4 separate regions of the Homo sapiens genome follow, and regions 1, 2 and 4 are each linked to region 3. The links are contacts of gene promoters, found by promoter capture Hi-C in blood cells and fetal thymus (Javierre and others, 2016). All regions are on one chromosome and are shown on one strand. Each heading gives the region's core, a stretch centred on a gene start or on the middle of the fragment in contact. The rest is flanking DNA. Distances are from core to core; before and after follow the strand shown. Region 1 overlaps LYSMD3 (LysM domain containing 3). Region 2 holds the start of CETN3 (centrin 3). Region 3 holds the start of CHD1 (chromodomain helicase DNA binding protein 1). Region 4 has its middle 26 kb from the start of LUCAT1.

Region 1 (6,513 bases), core at 95-2,594, 8.4 Mb before region 3:
AATGGCCAGGAAGGGAATATACAATAGTGGTTAAAAGCATGGATAACTGGGTTTGAGGCATGGCTTTGACACTTTCTAGCTGTATGACCTGGGGCAAGTTGTTTAACCTCTTTGCCATTAAGGTTCCACACCTGCAATATGGCAGTAATAATACTACCTACATTATAGGGTTGAGGTGAACATTAATGATTTAAATGTTGTAGGACACTCAGAACAGTGATTTATGGTATGTCATATAAAAGTTAGCTATTATTAAATGTTAATAGTAGGAAAACCAGAAACCTGAAAAGTCAAGGTGGTCAAGCAGAGAGGGTCTTTAGCAGGGAGTAGTGAACAGAATCCACTGTAGATTCGTGATCAAGTACAATGAAGACTAAAAGAGGTCAAGCTGGAAAAACTATCTTGCAATGTATGTGTGGGGGGATTGGAAGGAAAGGGTTGAACAATAACTAAAAGATGAAACAGTAAAGATAAAGTGTGTTTTATCATCTTACTACCTTCGCACTGTTTTGTCTTATAGCAAATGAAGATTCACTGAAAAATCCCAGTCTGACCCCATTCTCTTTAAATGCTCTTTTGCTTGGTATTGTGTACTCTTACTAATAACTACTTAATACTCTTTTTGAATTAGGGTTCCAAGGTTTAGTATCTACCTAAGTTATCTCCCTGAATATCCCTATAATGACTTCTATGCTATGCCAACTTCCTTGGTTGCATTCAAGATTCCAACCTTGGACTTTTTATTCTTCTCATCACAGTTGTATAACTGACAGATTTTTAATAATTCTTAAGATTATTTCTAAGTGGAATATACCACTAGCTACTTACTGTATTTTTTAAATGATAGATCCTTTTATAATGATAAATATTTTTATAATTTTTTTTGTTGCTTATGCTTCCATCAAAAAGGAGCACTGCTTATCTTAACTAATTCTGTTCATCCCTTTCCCACTATAGTGGCTGATATGTCCCCACCCAAATCTCATGTCATCTTGTAATCTCCAATGTTAGGGGTGGGGCCTGGGGGAGGTGATTGGATCATGGAGGTAGATTTCCCCCTTGATACTGTCCTGAGTTCTTGTGAGATCTGATTGTTTAAAAGTGTGTGGAACCTCCTCCCTCACTCGCTCTTCTTCCTGCTCCAGCCATGTGAAAATGCCTGCTCTGGCTTTGCCTTCTGCCGTTAAGTAAAAGCTCTCTGAGGCCTCCCCAGAAGTAGATGCTGCCTGCTTATGTACAACCTGCAGAACCATGAGCCAATTAAACCTCTTTTCTTATAAACTACCCAGTCTCAGGTATTTCTTTATAGCAATGTGAACACAGACTAATACAGTGGCCAATGCCATCTCTCCATTTAAGTACTTTTCATCATTCTCATTTCACATAAGCATTCAGCTGATATATCCTGTGATTTCCCCCAATACATTAACACTTCTTCTCTATCCTTATCACAAATATTTTAGTCTAAGTCCTGATCATCTTTATTATTCCAGTAATCTCTTTATTGGATCCCCTTCAATTCATCAGCAGGCCCCTCTGCTATTCTGTATCACTCCTGTTAAAACTCTACAATAATTGTATTCTCTTACTATATGGATCAAACTTTTCCATTCTGTATCACTCCTGTTAAAACCTTACAATATTTGTTCTCTTACTGTATGGATCAAACTTTTCCATAGTGTCTCAAAGCATTTCATCCCAAATAGTCTGTGCCACTCACTTCGGAAATAACTATGAAAATTCCCTTTGTTGTTTACCATATTTCCTCCTTGAAATCTTCTTCACATCACTGTTGAATGCCTGAAACATCTTTACACCTCATTGGAAATATGACCTATTTTTAATTATTCAGATGGTATGTTAAATTTCCCTAAGAAAATTTTCTAGGTTCATTAAAAGAAAGCTAATGTCTTATAAAACTACTGAATCACAAACTCTCCTCTCGGATCTGTACCTTGATGTTTTTTAGCCTTGTGTCTCATTTTGAAGTGTATTCCACCATCTACCTTCTATGACATATTCTGTAATTTATTTATCAATGGTCTTATTTCTCTACAAAACATTTACTCACATGTTTATTTGCATTTAGAAATAAACTTAGATATTTTCTGATTTAATAATGGCAAGAATTGATGTTTTCATACATGAGCAAGGTAGGAGGAAAAAACTACCCAGCTCTTACACCACATCAAAAAATTCATTTTAATAAAATATTTTATTAAATTTTAATATCAAAATTTGAAATGTTTTGATGAATTGTGAATTGTAATAAGAAATGTGAATTATTGCAATAGTTGCAAATGTAGAAGAAAACCTCATGACCATAATTTTTTTAGAATATAAATACATTTATATAATATAAACTTATAGACATGTGTGTTCCTATTGCAGAGAAGTATTACAGGTAATCAATAAAAGGTTTTTCAAGTATAAAAATACTTTACATCATGAAAAATTTGGGGGGAAGATGAAAATATTAATGAGAAAAAGGAATGATATAAAATCTCATGCTATTGAAAAAAGAGCTCTCATACACACACTTTCCACTTTTTTTAAAAATACAAATTTCAGGTAGCAAATCCTGGTGGTACTTAGAATTCTGTGGATGCATTTAAAGAGCACTCTAACAGTCTTATTTTTAAATGTTAATACAACATTCTGAAAATTATACCATTTGTAACTATGTTAAGTCATGAGGAAGAATTTAGGAAGTTCACTTAAAAATGTGCAATGAGGTACATAGTACATATATTTCAAAATTCTATTGGGAGTATGAGAACAAAAAGTTTGAAAACAAATGTTCTAACCAGTTTCCATATCAATGTGGATATAAAAATATCCTGCTAAGGCCTCAAGATGGACATAATGACACAGAGAGAAAATGGGTCCAAATAGAGTATAGTATCTATTAAAATTAAAAATACACCTTTCCTCTTATCTGGCAATCCCACTTTTAGGATCTATCCCACAGAAGTAAAGGCAGTGCCATTTAAAGATATAGTTGTGATGATATTTGCCACACAAGGTAAAACACCAAGAAAATCCTGAGTATCAATTAATAGGGCAATGGCTTAAAAATACTGGAACGTTAATACTACAGACATTATACAACCATTTAAAATAATGAGTTAATAAGGCTTTGAGGGATGGTCATGAGGGTGTCCATGATACACTAAAGAATGAAAAATGCAAGTTGCAGAGTAAAATGCATAATATAATCCACTTTTAAAAATACAAAGATTACTAACTCCCCAAATATGTATATATAAATAAATACTTATGAGCACAAAAAAAGGTAAAGCATTCCTACATGCCAAAGTGTTAATGCTGGTTATCTCAAGAAATTGGGGCAGGGAAAAGCTTTTCCTTACACATTTCCACATTTTCTTACCATTTGAATAAGAAGATAACATAGTTGAGTGTTTTTCAATACTGAAATTCGTGGATTTGGAAATACACAGAAATTCAAGTATTTGTTAAATATTTAAAAAGTAAACATCTACAAATGTGACACAGATTTCTTTTTTCTTTCCTTTTTTGGAGACGGAGTCTCGCTCGGTCGCCCAGGCTGGAGTGCAGTGGCGCGATCTCGGCTCCTGCAAGCTCCGCCTCCCAGGTTCATGCCATTCTCCTGCCTCAGCCTCCAGAGTAGCTGGGACTACAGGCGCCTGCCAACACGCCCGGCTAATTTTTTTGTATTTTTAGTAGAGACGGGGTTTCACTGTGTTAGCTAGGATGGTCTCAAGCTCCTGACCTCGTGATCCACCCGCCTCGGCCTCCCAAAGTGCTGGGATTACAGGCGTGAGCCACCGCGCCCAGCCCATGTGACACAGATTTCTATGCAAAAAATAAGAGCAAAAAATGGAGAAAGGAATAAACAAGGTAAAAAAGGACACAGAATTTATTTCAGTGTGCGTAAACAAATAATTTCTTCTGAATTGCATTATGTAATATTAAAACTTACCGTACAACAGTACTGAAGGGCTATTGCATTTAATGTATCTCCTTCTTGTATATCTTTTGTTAATACTATAATGTCGTCAAGTCTATCTCTTGATGTACTTCTTCGGACTTTCTCTTTTCCTCTGGATCGAAGTTCATACACTTCAGCATCCTCCTCCAAAATATCACTGTCTGAACAATTTCCAAATGCATGTACTTGACCACTTGACTGAACTCCTGGAAGAGGAAAACTACGATTCTGATGCCTCCCTGCCATAATGTTAAAATCTGGAGGAAAAAAAAAGCAGAGAAAATTTTGGAATGTAGCTGATCCAACTGACTGATTTGCATGCATCGTACATTCAGGACACAATCTTTTGTTTTTGTTTTAATGGTTTTAGTTATTTAAACATTTAGGTTTAAGTTCGTTTTTTTGTTTTGTTTTGTTTTGTTTTGAGATGGAGTCTCACTCTGTCACCCAGGCTGGAGTGCAGTAGTGCGATCTCAGCTCACTGCAACCTTTGCCTCCCAGGTTTAAGTGATTCTCCTGTTTCAGTCTCCCGAGTAGCTGGGATTACAGGCGCCCACCACTACGCCCAGCTAATTTTTGTATTTTTAGTAGAGACAGGGTTTCACCATGTTGGCCAGGCTGGTCTCGAACTCTTGACCTCAGGTGATCTGCCCACTTCAGCCTCCCAAAGTGCTACGATTACAGGTGTGAGCCACTGCGCCTGGCCTAGGTTCAGGTTTTACAACTGTTAAAGTAGAACAAACGTATTTGGCAGTGGAGACAAAGGTAAGGGAAGAAGAGGTAATCTCCTCTATTAGATCATATATCACTAAACACGTGGAGTAATTACATATTAACAAAGGCAAATTGCTATAATTCTTTTGGTAAAAATATAACTTATAAAATTAAATACTATAAAATATTACATTAAATATAAAATCGTAAATTCCCCTTATTCTGAGTATGTGAAGAAAATCAGAGAAATAATTGTGTTATGTCTTAAAAACTTGTGACTATATAACTTATAGCTCTGATGGAATCAAAGCATGTTTTATATACACATAATACTTTCATGAATTCAAAACTTTCCAGCTTGTTCTGCATTTCAACTTCATTCAGGATTGGAGTATCTTTCGTATTACTTCCTCCTGGACTTTGGTATTTATATTTAGTGCAGATATGCCTGCAATATAGGTTATGATTTTGCTTCCCTGGAAGCAGGAATTTTTCTTCCCTGGAAGCTTTTTAGCCAACTTAGAGTCCTCATCAAATTCAACTTATGGTCCATAAAGACTGTGAACAGATTTTAGGTTACTGTGTTCATTTATACTTTAGAAAAACCATTGTAAGACTGACTGGGAGCTGACCTAAGTTAAAAACAGGCATCAATGAATACTTTTTGTTTACTTGCATACTAACTCTCAACTCACCATCATCAAGTTGATCTATCTACTCTCTTTAATTAGGAACACAAGAACCTAAAAAACTAATTCCACATTCACAGTTTTGGCTTCGTGTTAATTATTCACATAAGAAGGGGCAGACTGCTTTCAGTTCTTGTTGGGAAAGATGGAGGGAAGTAGTAAGAAGCACTTTGGAGATAAAATTCTTTGCACTCAAGGTGGTTCAGACATGAAGAGAGGGAGTAAATTAAGCATCACACCAAGATTTCTGATTTGCATAATACATTGTGGTGCCATTCTCTGAGATATGGAAGAGGAGCTGGGGGAGGAGGTGCATGGCTATGATTATGAATTCCTCTAAGATAGTAAAAAGGAATGGCAAATAGACAAATGGGCTATATAGTCAAACTCAGAGAAAAGGTCTAGGTTAGAAATAAAATTTCATGACTAATTTGCACATAGATGAAAATGAATTTGTGAGTACATATATTACCTAGAGAGTATAGAAAAAGAAGAGGGTCCAAGACTGAGCCTTGAAGAAGTCCAAAATTCAGTATCTTGGTGAAAGGAAATCAGCCTGAAAATATGGATAAGGAGTGTCCAGAAGAGGGAGAAACCATGGAAGTGTTATGTCATGGAAGCCAAAGCAAAATAACATCTCAAAGACTCACTATTTTTTGAATACTATGGATGAGTACCAAGCGAAACAAAAACAAACAAACAAAAAACAGAAAAGACCAACTCCAAAACTCTGAGTATATAAAATGGATGACAATAAATTACAAAGGTTGAGAATCCCTAACCCAAAAATCCAATCTTAAATACTCTGAAATTTGAAATACTTTGAGTGCTGACATGAAGCCACAAATGGAAAATTCCACAACTGACGTTTCAGATTTCAGATTAGGAATGCTAAACCTGTACAGGTATTCTGGTGATGTGCTTAGGTACCCTGAACACATTATTTTTTCACTGTATTAATGGTATTTTTTTTTTTTTTTTTACTGTTAAGCACTTATGTGTGAAAAAGTGTAAGAAAATGACTGCTTATTAGTAGCATACAAATTCAGAGTTAGGAATGACGGTGATGCCAAACAACCACAAATTTTCCACAAGGGTGGCTGAGATAGTGACACTTTTACCTGCTGATGGTTCCAG
Region 2 (7,145 bases), core at 2,181-4,680, 8.5 Mb before region 3:
AAGATTCAAACTGTTCCTTGAAGGATAGATGAAGAGGAGCAGTAGGGTATTTGGGAAGGATGACTGGTATTAAAAGAAACACTGAAACGAATAGGTTCGAAGGACAATGAACAGAGCAGTTTACCTCACCTGAATTAGAAAAGTTCAGGTGAGGTAAACTGCTCACCTGAATTAGGAGGTGAATTCCACCTTAATTAGAAGAGTTCAGGAGGAAGAAAGCAGTTAGCAAATGAAAAAAGTAGTTGGTGGCAAAAGTGTAGAGAACATTCAGTAGAAAGCAAAGGAATCTGAACTTTAAGTAGTATACAATGAGGAGTTATGGTTTATGAGCAATGAACAATTTATGAGCAATGGTGAAAGAATTTTTAAACTATCTAAATTCAGTGGTAGTGTACAAGGTGAACTAGTAAGAAATCATTTAGGAAGCTCCAGGTATGAAATAAGGTCCCAAACCAAGATAGTCAATGGTTACAAATGGAACAGACATTATAAAGGAAGATCAAATCTGGGTAACCAAAAAAAAAAAAAAACAAAAAAAACAGTGGGAAAAGAGAGCCAAAGAGGACTGCAAGATTGAGAAAGCTAGACTTAGCAGGCCTATTAACTGCTTTTATACATTCTATCCTGTCACTGCATAGTTCCTATCCCTACTTGGAATTCTAATGCTTAAAAATCCCTTACGAAATTACAAAAATTAAAACTACCAAATAAACACTTACATTCACCTATCCATTAAGGCCATTAAAAATCTCAAAATACTATCTTTCCCACTGTGCTGAAAGTAAGTCCCATTCTACCCTAAACCCAAATCTCTCCTTATACCCTGACAAATAATAATTTACAAATCTCTCCCTACACTTTGACATTCTAGGTCTTAAAGCTGACATTTTTACCTATTAGCATGTGTCAACATCAAACAGCACTAAAGTTGTTTGCACCAGAGAAAGTGGATTGAGACTATGTTACTAACAAATCCAAATTATAAGATTAAAAGACAACACTCCCACAGTCTGAAAACAGTATGAGTCACCAAGAAACAAAAACAAAAACAAAAAACAGTGAAAAGAAGATGGTAAGAATAAATTCCAGTTTGAAATCCTTTAATTATGACAGTGAAAAATAAGCACCTTCCCTGGGAATGTATTTTTACATTTAAAATACTATTCGTTTTCTCATGTGAAAAAGATTTTCTAAAAACTATGTTAGGAGTTCTCTTCAGTTTTATTACAGCATCTAACTATGAATGCTTAAAATGCCTTCATAGTTCCAAAACCAATTTAGTTAAAATAATTATTTAGAAATGTAATGTAAAGCAACTGTAAAAATGCAAATCATTTTAACACAGAAACAAATATTTTAAAGTATACCATTACCTTTAATTCATGATAATCTATTGCTTCATCTTTGTCTGTATCAAATAGTTCAAAAGCATCTTTAATTTCTTGTTTCTGTTCCTCAGACAGTTCTCTTCTTTTTTTCCTCTTTGTTTTGTCCACTACAAGCTCACTTCTATGAAATGGAAAGAAAAAGCCCTTAGTCCACTTTAATTCTCTTTACTAACAGAAATTAGCCAATAATTACCTTCTAAATTTCAAAAAAGAAAGTACTTTGGAGAAAGATAGGGAAACTTTCCCTTTATGAGTCAATGACCTGTTTATTCCATAGTCTAAATTGCTATAAATCTGAACTTCGCAAAACTAAAGAGTGTTACAGATTATTAAAAGAAATGAGGACCAAACTTTTCTTTTTCCCAGCTTTTTATTTATTCCCACTAATGTTACTGTGGAAGAAACAAGAACTGTGAATAAGCAACACTACTTTTATGTCTGAAACTCCAACCAACTCCAACCAAAAAAACAAAAACACGTTATCCTACAAGAATGTTAAAGAATTTAAAAAAAATCTCCAAATGAAACCAAAATTCATAACTGACAATCACTATATATCGGTTTACTGTTGATAGTTCTGATAATTATGTTCATAAAATTACAAAAAAAAAGTGAATTAACTTATACAGTATTTTAGCACTGTTGGTTCAAAATGTTTTTAGATTACACGTTTTTAACAGTTTGGCAATTTATGTGTCATTTCCTCCATTGATATTAACAAACCATCGAAAATATTAATGAGTCTAAACATATGACAAATATTAGATGCCAATATACAATGTTTGTGCTTCATTCTATATAAAAATGTGATGAGTCTTGTCTCATTTAACATGTAAACCGGAGGTTAACTTCTCATAAACTCTGGAAACGCTTAAAGAAAAAAAGCAAAAATTATTTTAAAGCCAGAAATGTTTTCCTTAAGAGCTGCCCATCTAAATGTGCTCCAAATTTTCAAATGGAGCCGCAACACTGGAATAACGAGTTTTGAAACACAATCCGGTAACACATTAACATGTCAAACCAGTTGACTGTACTTAAAACACCTATCTAGTTGCATTTGAAAGTCGTTTTGGTCTCTGAAAGCTCCAAAAAAAAAAAAAAAAAGCTAGGAAGTGACTAGTAGGTGCAGTATAACAAAGCTGAGGAAGATCTTCCTTTCATGAGACCTGACTTGACACAAACTTGGGTATTCCTGGGGTCAGTCTTTTCCTTCCTGAGACTTTTGGAGGCCAAGTCCAGAACCGACCCACCCCTGACCCCATCCAAGGGTACCATGATTATCCCTTAGCAGAACATGGAATATTTTCGGAGTGTCGTAAGTGTATGGATAGTTTTACGGTACAACGTCTACATAGTGGGAGAGGGCAACAGAGGGTTAGAGGTTAGAACTGAAAGGTAAAAAAATGCAAGAAATTTAGGAAATCCAAGAGACAGACTGCCAATTAAAGTCACTAAAATGGGTCTCCAATTACACCGTAAAGCAGGGCCCTGGGAGAAGAGGAAAGAGTTTTTGTTATTTCCAAAATTTATAGGTGGGTGATTGCATTAGCAGCGGAGCAGCCGAGGTGGGGCCCTGACCAGGCACACGGATGAATGAAGGGATGTCCGCGACCTGATCTGAGAAACAAGAGTAGAAGCCTCGCGATATTTCATTCCCACCTCGCTCGCAACTAAGCCCAACCTTCTGGCAGTCCAAAGCCCTACGCGCTGACAGAAATAACCTCCTTAGCAGAAATGCACTGGTCTCGTTCCCTGCAGGGCATCAGAGCCCAGAGGGTGAGTGATCCGGGCAGGCTGCCCTAGGCTCCTTTCCCGCGTCCCAAACTACATCCCCTGCCTCGCCTCGGCCCCAAACGTCCTCCCTTCCACACACACCCTCCCTGGGCCCCGCTCCGGGGTGTGGAGAGCACTGCCGCCTCCTTATTACCGACCTCAGAGCTAAACTCATTATCTCTTCGCACAGAGACGTTCCTCTCAAGAACGATTTTAACCCCCTACCCAAGGCAGCAAGACGCCCACAGCCGTTCAACAGACACGAACGACCTCAGCGGCCTCAGGGACCTCCCACAACATAGACACTTTTGAGCTGGATTGGTTGAAATGTCGCTATGGTTCTGCCTATTAGGGGGCGGAAGCTTTACCAGTTCTATTTTCATTGGGTAGGTTTTACGTCAATCAAGGAAAAAAAAATTTTTTTTCTGTGCCCCGCCCACCTCCTAACGCCCCCCCGCCCCCCCAATCTAGGGCCGCTCTCGCCCTTCGGATTGGCTCGATGCGTTTTTCCCCGAATCCTTTGCGGGTCCGGCCTCCGATCCCTGTGTGGCTGTTTGGCGGGTGGGCGCTGTGTTCCTCTCTCGTAAAGCCGTGCGGTCTGTGGGCCGCCATTCAGAAACTGGATGGACAGCTTCGGCGGTGGGAAGGGAAGGGACATGCTGCAGGCCACCCTCCGGCTAGAAGGAGGGAGTACTTGAGGAACAAGGTCTGCGAAAATTGGCTGTGCTCTGTTCTAAAACTTGGAATGGCCTCAGTACCTGGGGAATGTGTTTAAAATGCAGACTTAAATGTCCGTTTCTCCATTCTAATTTCAGTAGGTATGAATCTGCGTTTTTACTCCTCACAAGCCTTCCAAGTGATTCTGAGGCAGGTGCTGTGGCTGTACTTGGATTATCACAGGGTTAGATTATCAGGCTATTTATGATTTAGCTGTATCTAAACCACCTTTCCCTCTCTTTCCTCCTTTGAACTGTTTGAAACGGATTTGTTCCCTTCTGTCTCTTATTTTTCAGTGCTGTAAGCTGTTAACACACATGAGACTGTCTTCACTACCAAACCAAGTCTCCTAAAGCTCACTTGAATGTCTGCTTATTCGTGTCTCTTACTAGGTTCAATTTCTTGGAGGCCGTGATTATATCTATTTAACGCTTTTCCTTGTACCTAATAAAATGTCTGGTGCGTAGGTGCTCGGTAAATTGAGTGGAATCTTTTGAAAATCCACAAAATACTGAGCTAAACAGCAAATCTCATAAACGTGAATAAAATAGCCTGAGGATGGGAGTTGAAGGCGGAGAATATATAAACATTATATGTTTAAGGGATGTATATAAAATTTTAGAGAAGGGAGAGAACACAAGATATGCTTCTTAAAGGAGGTGACATAAACGTTAGACCTAGAAGGATGGGCTAAATTTGCACAAGGAAAGATAGTATGATAGAATAAGCTAAAAATTAGCTAAGGGATAGCACCCCTAAAAAACAAAAGTGGAACTTTTATTTTGTTCGTATTTTAAATTTTAAAGTACCTTTATAAATCACCTTTGAGTCTAAAAGGAAAGAGAAATTGTAGTTACTAGAACATAATGATATTGAAAAAAACTATATGTTAAAATTTTAAGATACAGACCAAGTTATAGGAGAACATTATTTTAAATAAGAAAGAATAAAAATAGGCCAAGCATTTATTTGAAGATGTTAGAAACGAAGAACAAATTGTATAATTGAAATTAGGAAGAGGAAATTAGTAAAGATAAAGTTTGAGAACAGTGTTTTAAAAGGAAATTGGTAAAATTGATAAAGTACTCATAATCTAGTATAAAGCTGGTTTTTGGCAATACCAGTGAAATTCAAAGACTTATAGGAAGTGTAACAAGAAAAGGAATAGTGCCACTAGTAAGGTTGGTAATTTAATAAAAGGGAGGTTTAAAAATTATTAAAATATTTTATACAATTTTATACCGCCAATAAATATTAATAGAAAATGAAATAGTCACTTTTCAAGGAAAACATAACTCAAAAAAGGTGGAAAACTGAATTAAGTCAATAACTACAGACAGGACTGGAACAAAGATGCCAAAGTTCTGTACTCACAAATAAAAAGCCTCCAGCCCACTCAGATTTATGATTAAAAATCATAAGAGCTAAATCTTGTGCTTTAAACTCAAGTCATAGAAAATGATGGAGAGCTTCTTAGCTTAATTTTTGAAGCTGCCATAATCTTTCACATCCTAAAAGAACATTTAAAGTCACTCAGTGTAAGCTCAGTGATGATGAAGGCTATGCATGTTTCTCACCATTGTATCCCCAGTGCCTGACTCATGTTTGATGTTCATTTGTGAACTTAAGTGCAAAATTCCTAGATGTTAGCAAAGTCAGTTTGATACTGTCTTAAAGGAACATTTCTCTATAACTAAATTGAGTTTTTTTTTGTTAAGTGCAAAGATAATTCAAAATATAAATCTGTGTTAAATAATTATAATGTTAGGTTAAGGAAATCATCTCAGTGTCAAAAAGGCACTGAATAATAGGTAACACCTTTTCTATTAGGATATAAAGTGGGTTTAGAAAATACTTTTTTAAATATGATCGGCAGAATACTTAAACACCAGTGTTTCTCAAACCTCATTCCTGAAACACTAGGATTTTGTGAGATGCTTTTGGTCTCAGAGTGCGTTTTATAAGCAAATAATTTGGGCAAACAGATTTTAAAAGGTTTTCAATAGGGTGTCCTTTTAAGAGAGTGACAGGGAATTTACACGCATCACTTTTATTATATTTAATTAGTGAGAACTAGTGACAACCACTTCTTGCTTCACGGGAGGTTGAGGCAAGAAATCTCTAGATGGAAAACTGCTCTGCTGAAACTTGGGGTCTAATCATCTATTACTAAAGATAAGACAGGTGGTTACACTAATTATATTTTAAACCTAAATTTGATGCAATCAAAATTCTCATATTTTTCTTGAATTGAACAAAGGTATTCCAAAGACCATCTCAACAACAATTCTATAAAAATAACTTACTAAACTGTGAAAAAGAATAATAATACAAAAATTGCTGTATGGGACACTAAAATGTATTTGGTACAATGGTAATCAGACCAGAAATTCCAGAGACAGCCAAATGTAAATAAAAATGTCTGCTTTGAAAAGGTAGTGACATAAATATTTGTTTAGTCTGCCTCCTAAAGCCTTAATAAATCAAGAGTTCCTCTATCACCCACGCTGGAGTGCAGTGGCATAACTCACTGTAACCTCAAACTCCTGGGCTCAAAGGATCCTCCCGCCTCAGCTCCTGAAAAGTTAGGACTACAGAAGCATGCCACCATGCTCAGCTAATTTTTTTTAAATTTTACACTGTGTTGCTGTGTTGCCCAGGCTGGTCTAGAACTCCTGGTCTCAAGTGACCCTCCAGCCTCAGGCTCCCAGAGTGTTGAGATTACAGGAATTAGCTCCCATGCCTAGCCAATAAATTAATTTCTAAAGCTGAAGTGACCTGGAGAGGGACCATCAGCAGACTAGGTATTTAAAAAATTATTGGAAAGATCAAAAGAAATATGGAAACTTGTTGACAAATGAAACAGATCACTGAAGTGGCATCCTATAATTTTCCAGAGATGACTTATGTTTCACAGAGAGTTGATCTACCTAGCAAAGTCCCAGAGAGACTCCAGGAATAGAGTTCCCTTGTACAGTAGAAGGTGGAAATGAGAAGGGGGCTAAAAACAAAATGTCAATTTAAAACCTCTTTAGGAAACCACTGTACTTCAGTTCCTCCAGATTCCTCTCCCCAGTGTTTTGTCTCTTTACATCTATCTAGAACTCCACTCTTTTTTTTTTCCTTTTTTTAGAGACGGGGGTTCTCTCTGTTGCCCAGGCTGGAGGGCAATGACATGGCCTTAGATCATAGCTCACTGCAACCTCAACCTCCTGGGCTCAAGCAACCTCCCACCTTGCGCCTTGGCCTCCTGAAGTGCTGGGATTA
Region 3 (6,258 bases), core at 2,187-4,686:
ATATAACTACATGGATTGTAAACTAATGTGCAGATAACTCAAAATTTGAGAGCTACAGAATTTAAAGAATCTTCTTTGCAAACACTTGACCCAAGCAAGAACTCTTAACTCCTTCACAGATAATTAAAACTCCAATCTGAAAATAAAAAAGGGCCACAGTAATATTTCAACAAATGTCTGGCTCAGCACTGTCTAAAACTTTCTCCAGTGATAGAATGTTTTCTATGTGCTGTCCAATATGGTAGCCACTAGCCACATGTGATTATTCAGCACTTGAAATATATCTAGTATGACTAAGTAAATTCTGAATATTTTGTAATTGAGTTCAAATAGCCACATGTGGCTAGTGGTTACCACACTGGACAGTACAGGTATAGAAGACAAAATGCCAGAAAAAGATGAGTGAAAAAATTTTTATTGCCTTCATCTAGAAATTTCACTAACAGTCAAAACAATTTAAATCTATTATACATGCTCCAGCTTAATTATTAGCTCAAATATAAACTTCCAAATAGATTTAAGTAAACAAAAACTTTCTATATTTAAGATCTACTGTGTATCTGAATGAAAAATATAATTAAAACCTGTATTATGAAAAAAGGTTCGTATATCAGAATTTTTTTAGTATTTGGATAGCTAAGAGGAAAACCTGAAAACTCTGCTACCTATGAGGAAAACTAAATAACAACAATAACAATAAAGAAAAAAGTCAAGTTTTCAACTCTCTTCATAGTAAACAATTGATAACAAAGTGCTTACTTACCTTGATTCTCCACTACTGTTTCTAACACTTTCTTCATCACTGTGTCCATTCATTGTAAATTATTATCAAGAAGTTTTAAAGTAAAATATAAATCTTCCCAGTTTAAAAGATGAATATAAATACTGACTCCTTGAATATAAAAATTCACAGATGAATTTTCTTCAACAGTCACAGGTTTTCTGGGACTCTCCTTTGATTCACCTAAAGAAAATATATTAATAAATTAACAAAATTTCCTGCAGAAAAAAGGTAAATTAAGCCCTGTCTAAAACGTATAAATCTACGTAGGCCAATTAGACTACAGCTGTTAAGGAAGAAGTGGGGGCCTTTTATTAAATACTTAAAATATCTAGACTTGTAATAACTACACTCCTGACTGCTAACTAGAATTTAGTATGCTACTGCTAATATACTTCGGACAGAAAAAATTAAAATATTTGTGGAGTGAAAGGATTTTTAGAGACTAACTGCAACTAACAATGTTTTTATAGACTCCTAAAGCAAGGTGATACGATGTAACATATGCATACATCCCAAGAGTAGATAACGGAGTCTTATTAGATAACTTGGTCGAATAAATGAAGTGGGGGGGGGGGTGGGAGGAGGTTACCTTTAATCAAGCCCTCACTCCTATCACCAAGAACTTCATACACTTGAGTGAGAAAGTTCTGAAAACGCTCCCATGGGAGGAACAGGCAAATAAAAGATACCATATACTCTCAACAAAAATGCATAGCTCAAAATAAATGTGTTATTTAACAGGTAAACGGATAGTGGGATGATAACATTTAAATAATACTTAACCAGTTTGCACTTGGTTTTTATTTTGTGAAAAAAATTGAAAAGGTAATAGAATATACACTATATCTGATTTTTTACGTAAAAAATTTGGGGCAAGAATAATGAACCAAGACACACCATTTCCACCTTTAAAGATTTCAGTACAACACTGAAGAATCACCTACAAGCCATCCACGAATAAACAAAGGAGATCTCTGGCAGGGGAGGGAGAGGAAGAAGCGGGGGAAGGAGACGTCAGATCCTTCCCCAGCCAGAAAGTACCGAGACAGCCAACTGAGAGCAGAGCTGTCCTCCGACCTCAGCAAAGAGAATTCACTCCTACGATTATTTCCATTCCACAAGAGAGGGAGGGAAACAGATTGTTACCAACTCAATGATAGCAAAGTCTGCATCTGGATCAGGATGTTAATTCTCTAGACTACTGTCCAGTAGACTCTGCAAGAACAGGTTATCTAAAAAGTAACCGTTCTACTCAACATTTATTCCTAATGTTAAATATTAATCTCAACCCTAGTCAAAGTGCCTTACTGAACAATTAAGTCTTAAAAAATCTAAGTATGTTAACAAACTGCCTTTCCCGTTTCTTCCTTTAAAAAGTTCACTCCCCTTTTCGTTCTTTCCTTTTCACCTTCCTTTCGTCCCTCAAAATGGCTTTCTCTGTACATTTTAACTTCCTTTCCCCTCCATCTCCCTTATCCGAATAAGTCCTCTGAGACCCTTTTCACAACCCTGAGTTCTGAAGCTCCAAGCGCACACAGCGCTGTGTCCTCTCAAGCGTCTCCACAATGACTACCCTAAGTTATTAAACCTCTTCAATCCTCTGTCTTTTAGCAGTTGCTTTGCTCCTGCTAAGTTTTTAAAGCGGCACTCGAAAGAGGTTTGGAAACCATCCTCACTCATCCATCCAGCGCGCTCCAATCAGCCTCCCTCGCGGACCTGCCCCCCTCTCCCAGGGCCTCCATCCCGGTCCAGGAGTCCCTCTTCCCGCCTCAAACTTCCCGCAGACCCGCCCCGCGCCCTCCCAGGCTCGCCCGAGCCGCCGCCCCCTCCCCCTCCCGCCGCTCCCCACGTGCTGGGAGCCCGGGTCGCGGCAGGACCCACGCACCGGCTAAGTGCTAGCCATTCGCGGGTCTCCTCTCGCGGCCCGGTCGGCACCAAGCCGAAGAGGCCGGGGCAGGGCCGCCGGGCCGGCGCAAGGATGCGTTCTGCGGCCCCGGCCTGTACTCGCCGCTCACACGCCCCCTGCGCGCCAGGCCCGTACACCGCCACCGGCACTCACAGAGCCACCCGGCCTTCACCCGGCCGCTGGGCCGCCGCCTGGGCACCGCGCCGCGCCCGCCCTCCGCCCGGCCGGTTCCTGTCCTCTCCGCCACATCCTGACCCGCCCGCCGCCCCCTTTCTTACCGGCGGGCTTGGCGGGGCGGAGGGAGCCGACTCGGGTGGACGGCCTCCCCCGCGCCCAGGCCCGGGATCTCCGCCGCCCAGTCCTAGGGCTCCGGCGTCTCGGGGTAAGCAAGAGTCCGTGCGGGGGAGGGGGAAGGGGACAGACGCGGAGGGGAAGGGGAAGCCCCGGTCCGCAGCACCAACGCGCGATCCCCTGCGGAGTGGAGCTAACAATTCATTATTGAAGCACCAAGGGCGAGGGCAGCAAGAGCTATAAGTAACCAGTCGTCGCCGCCGCCGCCGCCGCCGTCGCGCGCGCGCTCCCGCTCCCTCCGCTTATCTGCCCCCGGCAGCCGCCATGACGCCGAGAAAGCAAGCGAGCGCAACCGTCTCCGTCGTAGCCGCCGCCGCCACCGAGGTCGCCGTCGCCTCCGCCTCCCGCGCGACGTAAGCGCCTCTGCTCACTCCCCTTCCCGACAGAGCGCGAGGCGGGCGGGCGCGCGCACGCCGAAGCCTTTCTGCTCGCGCGCGGGAGGCGGGAGGGACTACGTTGAAGGGTCGTGGGCGTAGGAAAAAAGCGATTGGTGCTGGGGCGGGGCGGGGGGGGCGAGTGCGCGCACGCGCACGAATGGGAGTGCGCACGGCGGATGCGCAGAGGCTGTCGGACTCTGACTGCGCGGAGACCGCTGGACTCTGGTCGCGGCCTTAGTCCGCTGATCCTCGCTTGGGTGCCCGCCCTTAGCGGCCCGGCGTTGAATTCCGGGAAGTGGGAGCTTCAGGCTCGCTCCGTGCGGGTATGGGCGCTAATGTCACTTGGGATGGTTGCGCAAGGACATCGCGGCGGACACTGACAAGGAACCGGGGAGGAACGGGGGTGGGGAGAGACTGCGATGGGACTCGGGAAGCCGGGAAGGGCCGCGCTGAATAAGCCTAAGGGGCCGGGTCGCAAGGAGTGTCGGGTAGCACAGGCCTCGGCTCAGTCGGAGCGCCAGGCCTCAGGGTCCGGGCGGGGGCTGCTGCGTCACACCAGGCAGCCTGGGAACGCAACTGTTGGGCAACCGTGGTGGCCTCTCGCCACCTCTTACGCTTGGGCGATCTGCGATTGACGCATCCTGGGAGCTGATGTCCCGCACGGGCGGGGCGCCGGAGGAGGAGAGAAAATAGAGACCCGGTTGTTGACAGCCTGTGATGCCGCTTGATTCATGTGTGGGTGGCCTGGTTTAGAAATGTACCACCCTTCCTTTCTAGGTTCCTCCCCGGAGGGCGGGGTGACGGGTGCGGCGCCGAATCGCAACAAAAAACGCTGCTCGAGGGATGTTAGTAACTGTCTCAGCTTAAGTTGCTGCCTTTTAGCTTACAGTTTGTATCGTAACTGTAATTGTGGATCTTAGTTAAATCCCTTCAGTGTGTTGGAAACATATTTTTAAGTGTATTTTTGAAACATACTTAGAGCATTTTGAAATGCTTTTTTGAAAGCGTTTTTTAAATCAAAATTCTGTTACACTTTATTTTTTTCAGTCTGCAGATGAACTTGACTCACTCAAGGTTAATGATTTTTGTTTTTTATTTATGTTTGTAGAGGCGGGGTTTTGTCATGTTGCTAGGTTGGTGTTGAACTCCTGAGCTCGAGCGATCCACCTGCCACTGCCTTCCAAAGTGCTGGAATTACAGGCGTGAGCCACGGCGCCCGGTGGCCGAGGTTAATAATAATTAAAAGTTTCTAATCCCATTGTTCAGTTATTTGATTTGGTGTAAAGGCGCACTTTCCAAGTCAGATGAGTTTGTGGTAACATACATTCCCCAAATAATTATTTTTCCCTTGTGGGAAATATTCCAGTTTTAGGCTACCAGCTGTTTAAACAGTTTGGTTCAAATCCTTCAAAAAAATCTCAAAACATAACTCCACATATGTATTTACTACATATTGAAGGGTGTATTCACTTGGAGAAGTAGGAGAAAGCAAACAGATGCCAATGGCCTTTTTGAAAACATGTATCTATCAGCAATAATTGAATAGCAAAACGAAGTGGAACACTACCATCCTTTGCAATATTAGATAGTTTTAATACTGGGTTGTGAGGAATGAAAAGATCATACAAATCGTCATTTCTGAAGTCATTTCTGAAGTCGTCATTTCTGAACTGAGTGCTAATTTTTCATATTAAGCTTTATGTTAATATCCTTAATGAGAGGAACTTCCTGTGCCCGTAATTTCTCCAGAGAAACTATTAACATACACAGAATGTTGTAATCAGAAGTATAGTTCAGTTAATAAAGTCCTCAATTACAACTCTGACATTTTGTCATTGTCTTATGAAAAGAATTACTGTATATACAGTCTATTTTACGTTTTCCGGAAGCACGTCAGGCAGGTTTTTTGTTTTTTTACTACTAATTGTGCCATTGAATATGCTATTCTGTCGTATTGTGCCATCAAACATGCTATTCGAAAAAAGATCTTGCCCAATTTGTAATAAAATATTGAACATTGGAGATTTAGATTTCGAGTAAAATCATACTTTATTGCTTTGCAGAAGTACACAGTAGGTGGAAAATTGCAACAATCTTGCCAGTTCATTTTTTAAAAAGCGTGTAGGTAATCCAAAGATACCTTTTTGATGATTTGTTATCAACATAGTTAAATTTGCAGTGTCACTTTATTTGAATAAACTAGCTTTATCTCTACTTAGTGGTACTAAAACAATAGCCAAACAGTTGATAATCTCAACACATGACTAACGAAAAATTCCACATAATTAACATTAACCAGGAGGTTTTTGTTACTATTTAATTTCTCATTTTTAAAATTTCATATTCTTTGGAAAGAATATTACTTTTCCGGAATCTAAGACAGCATTTTGTGGGTCCTTAATTGTGATATGCTTTACTAGGTAAAGTACTAAATGGGTATCCTTAGGTGGGGATAGGCTGGGAACCACATATCCAGAATTGTGAAATATATAACATAAACAGGATAACTTGCTCCTTTGTTAGCTTTTTGGATGCCAGGGTTAAGATTTTAATTCCATAATTATGTCCTTGTTGCCTGGAGGATTTGCATATGAGAAACCACAAAAACAATCGGGACATTATTAAAATACCCTAGAATCTCAACCTGTGACAGTATTTCCCATGTCCTTGCAAAACCAGAGGAAGTCTTTCCAATATGATTCTTAAATTTACAAAGTCCTCTGAATAGAAACCATGAAATCCTAAGTCATCTTCTAGTGAAGATTTGCTGTACATTTTCTGTTTTCCTAATAAGAAATTAGAGGAGTTTAGTTCCCAGTGTTGGGCAAGGGATAGGACTC
Region 4 (6,785 bases), core at 210-2,709, 7.6 Mb before region 3:
TAAGATTATGATGCAGCTGAAAATTTTTTAGTGACATCATAGTCATTGTAAGGTTGTAGCACAATGTGTTACCTTTTCTATGTTTAGATATGTTTAGAGATACAAACACAACTGTGTTACAATTGCCTATAGTATTCAGTACAGTAACATGCTGTATAGCTTTGTAGCCTAGGAGCAATAGGCTATGTAAACCAAAAAGTGAGACAAATCTCATCAATTTAGAGGCTTATTTTACTCAGACTGAGGACACACCAGGAAAAAGAGACACAAGTTACACTAGAATCTGTGGACTGTGTTTTTTCCAAAGAGTCTTTAGGACTTCAGTTTTTAAAGGAGAAAGAGCAGGCAGGTGGGGAAAGAGCAACAGTCAATTATACATTCCTCTCACAAAGTAAATCTGCATTTTATGTAGTATAAACATAGAGTAGAGAAAGAAATTGTATTAGTCTGTTTTCACGCTGCTGATAAAGACATACCTGAGACTGGGTAATTTATACAGGAAAAAGAGTTTAATGGACTTACAGTTCCACAATGGCTGGAGAAGCCTCACAATCATAGCGGAAGGAAAGGAGGAGCAAGTCATGTCTTACATGGATGGCAGCAGGCATAAAAAGGAGCTTTTGCAGGGAAATTCCCTCTTCTAAAACTGTCAGATCTCATGAGACTTATTCACTATCACGAGAACAGCATGGGAAAGACCCGCCCTCAGGATTCAATTACCTCCTACAGGGCCCTTCCCAGAACAGGTAGGAATTCATGATGAAATTTGGGTGGGGACACAGACCATATCAGAAGTCAAACATGAATATTTCTCAGGGTGGGCAGAGGGATGATTTCTAATCTTGTATTTGTCCAGTACCTGTGAAGGTAAACTGTTAATTTACGTTATCAGGATGTGATTCCACAGAACTCTGTTTTAGGATAAAGACTTGGGCCCACAAAGAATTTCATTGTGAGCAGTTTGTGAGGGAGGCCACGTGGGGAGCTATGTGGCCCTCTGTGCTGCAGCTGTTTAGGAGCAAAAGGAAGGCAGTTTTTGCATGACTTCTTTCCCAAGCTTAACTTCTCCCTTTGGCATAGTGAGTTTAGTATTCCAAGATTTTATTTTCCTTTCACAGCTATACTATATAGCCTAGGTGTATAGTAGGCTATACCATCTAGGTCTGTGTACTCTGTGGTGTTCACACAATGATGAAATCACCTATGGATTTGTTTCTCAGAATGTATCTCCATCATTAAGCAATGCATGACTGTATTGACAGACTCAGAATTATTTCCTTTAATAAATTCATTCAGTAATCTCTGCAATTTTCAGTACTAAATCGTGGGACGCTTAACGGTGACTATCTTTACCTCTGTACTTTTGCACTAGTTCAAGGCACATGATGACTTCCCTTCTCCTGTCTCTGTATTCAAATCCAACTCAGCCTTAATGCACAGATAAAACTCCTATTTTCTCTTTGAAGACTGATCACTAACACCTCAAGCCAAATGGATCTCACCCTCTGCAGGACCTTGTGGCATACATTGCTGTTCATGTCTTATCCTTTTGACATTTGAACTTCAGCCATGTCAAGTGGCTATGTCAGTGGTTTACATGTCTCATAAGTGTCTATATAAATGTCTCTCCAACTAAACTGTAAGCACTCTTGAGACAAGAGACAAATTCTTACATGCATGTTATAGCATCCACAATAGGTAGCAACATTCTCTGAACATTGGCGCTCAATAAATAGCAATGCAATCTTTGGCATTTTTAGATGGATACAGAAACTTTGTGATTATGAAGTTTAATATTTCATATATTTAGCAAGTAGGAGAACAGATCACAAAGAGACCTATTCCAGATCGTAGAGCTCATAAAAGCTTTGGGAATGTTCATCACAAGCATTGCTAATTCAGTGACCGTGGGCAAGATCCTTAGCTGCTCGGGCTCCGTTTTTCCTTTTGAAAAGTAACAGGAGTCGGTGCAGGGACGGGTAGGGACACACGAACACACACACAAAGAAAAGTAAAAGAGTTTATACTTTGTGATCCCAAAAGTTCTTCCCAGATTTTTTTTTTAAAAACACAGCTTAATGAATACTGTTATGAGCCAGATAGATACTAAACACTTTGTCAACATTTTAAAATTTGATCCTTGGAAATACAGCTTTGTGAGGTGAGGTGGTATCATTCCTATTTTCACAGATAAAGTAACTGAGAAATAAGAAGTTTAAGTAACTTTCCCAAGGACACTCAACTAATAAGCAGCAGAAAAGAACTGGATTGGAATCCAGGCCCGTCCAACTGCAAAGCTTGAGATCTTATACTATTCTGCTTCATTTCTGCACTCTTCATTTTTATAGAGAGACTATAACTGAGAAAAGTTAAATATTTCACCAAGAATTTCACATCTAGGAATTGGTAGAGGTAGGACTGGATTCCAAGACTAGCTCTCTTTCCCTTATCATATGCTTCAGGTATCTATTTTATCAACAAAAATTCAGAAGGGGATTGTTTTAGTTGATTTCAGTGAGTTAATTCGTATTGAGTATAATTCAACAGTGAATGTAGTTGATTGTGTTTGTTGAATAAATAAATGAGTTTATTTTCTAGTTTAGAAAACTTTTCTGTCTGGGCACAGTGGCTCATGCCTGCAATACCAGCACTATGGGAGGCTGACGTGGAAGAATTGCTTAAGACCAGGAGTTGGAGGCCAGCCTGGGCAATATGGCAAAACCCCATCTCTACAAAAAATACAAAAATTAGCCAGGTATGGTGGTGCATGCCTACAGTAGTTCCAGCTACTCAGGAAGCTGAGGAGCAAGGATGGCTTGAGCTCAGTAGGGAGGCTACAGTGAGCCATAAATGTACCTGGGCAACAGAGCACTCCAGCCTGGGCAACAGAGTGAGACCCTGTATTTAAAAAAAGAAGAAGAAAGAAAAAGAAAAAAAAGAAAAATTTTCTGACGTACCTCTGTGCTTCACCAGTTCTAAGCAAAAGTGGGTGAGAAGGTTGTTAGGGATTTCAATAACGTAAATGTAGGAACACACCAGGGTGTGAGGGGTGGCAATCACTATAATATATGAACCAGCCTTTATAGGGATGTTATTGAGAAAAGTAGAAGAATATAAAATATATTCCCTTTTAATCAAATCCAAAAGAAATAATGACACAATTCACATCATCGCTATCTCCAAGGAAGAATAAACATATCTCCCTATCTTGAGTTCAGATTACAATTTGAATCTCCACAGTACCCAGTTTTCCTCAGGGAAGAATCTCTGAAGTTATAGCCCATGAACTACGTAAAATAATTGCCACAGCCTCCTGCCTACAGAAGTTTGTTTTCTACTTTAAGGAACAAAGTCAAGAGAGAAATTCTAGGGCACTTGAGGCAATCTTTGCCTATGTTCTTTCCTTGAATAAGCCCCAGAAATGTCCTTGCGGGGTACCTTGTGGAGCCAGGCAGGCCTTGACCCATTAGGTGATGAGAGCCTACCTGAGAGCCCTCTGTGGAAAAGAAAAAATATGGAAGGCCAGGATCTGCACTGGAAGGATGATGACAATGATGACCTCATTATTTGCCCCCAACCAAGATATTCTTAGATCTACTCTGGGATTTTCTACAGCCAGACCAGAGCATAAAGTTGGCATTCATCCCAGCAGATGAAAACTTAAGCAATTCCTCAGCATTTCCATGGACCCTGAGGAAACAAGTAATAGAAAAAAAAAGGCCAGACTCTTTCCCATGGCTTCAAATATCAGAGTTGCCTTAAAGTGATTATTTACAACCATGTATGTGTTTATTCCACGAGTGTGCATAATATATGCTTTTGTTAAATGTGATGGGGAGAATGATTCACTAACATTTCTAGATAAGTTTTGAAGAATACAGGAATTTTGGATACTCTTAATGCCATATGTACTTGCCAAGGAACATTTCTTCTTATTATATTAATAACTGTAAGAAAACACAGTATGCTTATTAATACTTGCCAAATGTTGATGTACAAACAGCTTTTCTTTTCAACAAGATAATCAGATTACGTAAAAGATCTGTGTGAACCAGGGCAGGCCTAATTCAGCTGACATTTAGCCATGTGCATCTGTCCTTTTTCATCTGGCTAAGCCTGCGCCTGCCTCTAAACTGCATGCCTTGTAGGAGAGAACCTCCTTTCTAATGGAAAAGGAGGATCTTTGTTTCAGGACCCAGGAATGAAAGACTCAGAGACCCAAATGAATTAAAGACCTATCTGGAATAAAATCTAGGAGTTACCAGCGATGGTGGAAAGCACCTGTAGTCTCATCTACTTGAGAGACTGAGGTTGGAGGATCACTTGGGTCCAGTTCTGGCCTGTAATGCCTTATGTATGCCCATCAGTGTCGATACTGGAGCTGGGCCTACCAAGTGGCCTAAGGAGAAATGAACCCACCCAGATTGGAAACAGCAGGTAAAAAGTCCCACGCTGATTAGAAGTGGGATCATGCCTGTGAGTAACCACTGCACTCTAGCCTAAGCAACATAGGGAGACCATCTCTACAAAATAAAACATAAAAATAAAAATAAAAATTCAGAAGTCCACTGTTAAGATGCTGCTATCCAGACTTTACATTGATATAGGGAATGGCTGTAGTAAACAACACACAAAGCAGTTAATGGTTTTATTCATATGATGAATCATTTACATTCAGTTAACCATTATCTGAATAATGATAATCATAGCATTGCATAGTTTGCCCTTCAACCTGTATTGTTTTTGTTTTTGTTTGTTTGTTTTGTGTGAAGTCAAGGTCTTTCTATGTTGCCCAGGCTGGCCTTCAACTCCTGGCCTCAAACCATCCTCCCATCTTGGCCTCCCAAGCGCTGGGATTACAGGTGTGAGCAACTATGTCTGGCCTCAGCCTATAATCTTTAGCTTTATATAATACCTCTTGAGGCGAACTATCACAGAATGATTATCTCCCTTATACAGATAGATGCTTTTTTTTTTGGATGCTTTTTTGAGGCCACTCAGAAATCAGGAAAAGACTTTATGCCCTTCTTCCAAATACAGCATAGACCACTGGAGACTATGACTGAGTTTTTTATTACCTGGGGATGGGGACTACTGCAGGCTTTGCACCTTGTTAGCATAGAGGGTGGAACCAGGATTGCCAAACCACCATTAAGATGCTTAGGCCAGAAGCACCTTGGAGAATCAAAAGGAAGCCCCAGAGATTTTGCTGTAGATACTGCTCTCTTATCAGAAATGTTCAAATATAACAACTGCTTGGTTACTATATAAGTGCTGTTGCATTAATAAGCCCACCTCAGGACCAGACATCCTACAGGAGCCTTGGACGAAAGCCCAGCATGAAGCAGTGCTCTTCAACGGATGATAGGTTAAGGACCAAGTGTGCAGTGCCTCTGAAGACCTTGGCAAAGAGGAAAGAAACGTCCTTGAGCCCACCCATCCTGGTTCCACCTAAGTAATGAGAAGTGGGGCTGGGGAACAGACTTTCCTCATTTAAAATTTAAGTTTCTATTCTGGCTCAAAAGAAATTTTACCTCAAATTTCCCCAAATCTAGAGGTGCATATCCCTCCCTAAGGGCAAATTCTCAAAAATAAAGAATTAAACATATAAACAAAAATATAAAAGGGGATACATCTTATACACTGACAATAAAGACCTGTCATGAATGTTTTCTTAGCCTCTGTGCATGTACAATTTTGGTAGCTGAATGTGACATGCCATAAGCACAACAGGTAATTATATCCTGCCAGTCAACAGTTCAGCCTCACTGTCAGAATGAGCAAACATAAAATTATAATAATAATTATTTACTACTCTATAATTATAATTATAATAATCATGATCATGATAAATAACATATATTAATGGCTTACTATGTGCCAGGTCGTTGGGTGAACTATGTATCTCATTTAATCTTTATAACAATCCTCTGAGGCACTATTCTTATTACCAGTTTTCAAAAGCAGAATTTTGGATTAAGAAATTTGCCCAAAGCCATCCAGCTATTAAGTGGATAAGCCAAGATTCAAGCTAGGTCTGTTTGCCTCCAAGGCTTATGTTTTAAAAAGACACAGATGGCTGGGCACAGTGGCTCACGCCTATAATCCCAGCATTTTGGGAGGCCGAGGCGGGCAGATCACAAGGTCAGGAGTTGAAGACCAGCCTGACCAATGTGGTGAAATCCCATCTCTACTAAATATACATAAAGTAGCCAGGCGTGGTGGCATGCACCTGTAATCCTAGCTACTCAGGAGGCTGAGGCAGGAGAATTGTTTGAACCCAGGAGGTGAAGATTGCAGTGAGCCCAGATTGCACCACTGTACTCCAGCCTGGGCGACACAGCAAGACTCTGTCTCAAAAAAAAAAAAAAAAAAAAAAGACACAGACACATTTAGTCGTGCAGGTACCTGTGTGTGTCTACACAGCAGGCATGGATAGTCCAGACATAGACTCAGGTATCCTAGCATGTAGCTCTGTACCTCTATCACCGACCTTAACCTAACTCTAGAGTCCAGTAGTTTCCACTGCCAGTGGAAAACTGCATTTTACTGATTGAAAATTCATTCTCTTTTGGGTAATTCTCACTTAGCTCGAGATTACCTTTTCTCTGCCTTCTTCCATCCCCTTTTTGGGGGATGGGATAGCAGGGGGAAGAGTAGAGTGAGGATATGTATATCATTCTGATATCAGGTGGGAAGGGGCCCTTTGCCTTCTATCCTTCCCTATCCTTGCCGGTCCCTGTTGAAGTAGAAACAAATCCACTCGGCCCTACTGGCCTCCACCG

The links. The method cuts DNA at HindIII sites, captures the fragments that hold promoters and counts their contacts. A CHiCAGO score of 5 or more calls a contact.
Region 1: a fragment that was not itself captured here is called in contact with the fragment with the promoter of CHD1 in region 3 in 1 of 17 cell types (non-activated CD4 T cells); the score reaches 8.0 in non-activated CD4 T cells.
Region 2: a contact is called between the fragment with the promoter of CETN3 here and the fragment with the promoter of CHD1 in region 3, in 5 of 17 cell types (total CD4 T cells, fetal thymus, total CD8 T cells and 2 more). The highest score is 9.8, in total CD4 T cells.
Region 4: a fragment that was not itself captured here is called in contact with the fragment with the promoter of CHD1 in region 3 in 1 of 17 cell types (activated CD4 T cells); the score reaches 6.4 in activated CD4 T cells.

Annotation. Positions count from the first base shown.
Region 1 is chr5:90,521,071-90,527,583 of GRCh38, forward strand. It overlaps LYSMD3 (LysM domain containing 3), which reads right to left. Exons shown (of 3, transcript NM_198273.2): 2 at 3,965-4,230. The coding sequence starts at 4,219. Among named protein-coding and RNA genes, the nearest start is that of LYSMD3, 5.3 kb to the right of the region's middle. RefSeq lists an enhancer at 3,196-3,697. The HindIII fragment of the contact is 4,027 bases long and covers 1-3,358 here.
Region 2 is chr5:90,406,326-90,413,470 of GRCh38, forward strand. It overlaps CETN3 (centrin 3), which reads right to left and starts at 3,431. Exons shown (of 5, transcript NM_004365.4): 1 at 3,320-3,431; 2 at 1,374-1,509. The coding sequence starts at 3,336. LOC731157 (a long non-coding RNA gene) reads left to right here and starts at 3,675. Exons shown (of 2, transcript NR_105024.1): 1 at 3,675-3,979; 2 at 4,175-4,344. RefSeq lists an enhancer at 3,201-3,400. The HindIII fragment of the contact is 6,726 bases long and covers 1-3,521 here.
Region 3 is chr5:98,925,571-98,931,828 of GRCh38, forward strand. CHD1 (chromodomain helicase DNA binding protein 1) reads right to left here and starts at 3,437. Exons shown (of 36, transcript NM_001270.4): 1 at 2,969-3,437; 2 at 764-964. The coding sequence starts at 816. It overlaps CHD1-DT (CHD1 divergent transcript), which reads left to right and starts at 2,992. Exons shown (of 4, transcript NR_151718.1): 1 at 2,992-3,072. LOC100289230 (a long non-coding RNA gene) reads left to right here and starts at 3,564. Exons shown (of 1, transcript NR_036530.1): 1 at 3,564-5,439. RefSeq lists silencers at 2,581-3,210, 3,471-3,680 and enhancers at 3,454-4,352, 3,841-4,170. The HindIII fragment of the contact is 7,543 bases long and covers 1-5,111 here.
Region 4 is chr5:91,284,663-91,291,447 of GRCh38, forward strand. No RefSeq gene overlaps it. Among named protein-coding and RNA genes, the nearest start is that of LUCAT1, 26 kb to the right of the region's middle. The HindIII fragment of the contact is 809 bases long and covers 1,056-1,864 here.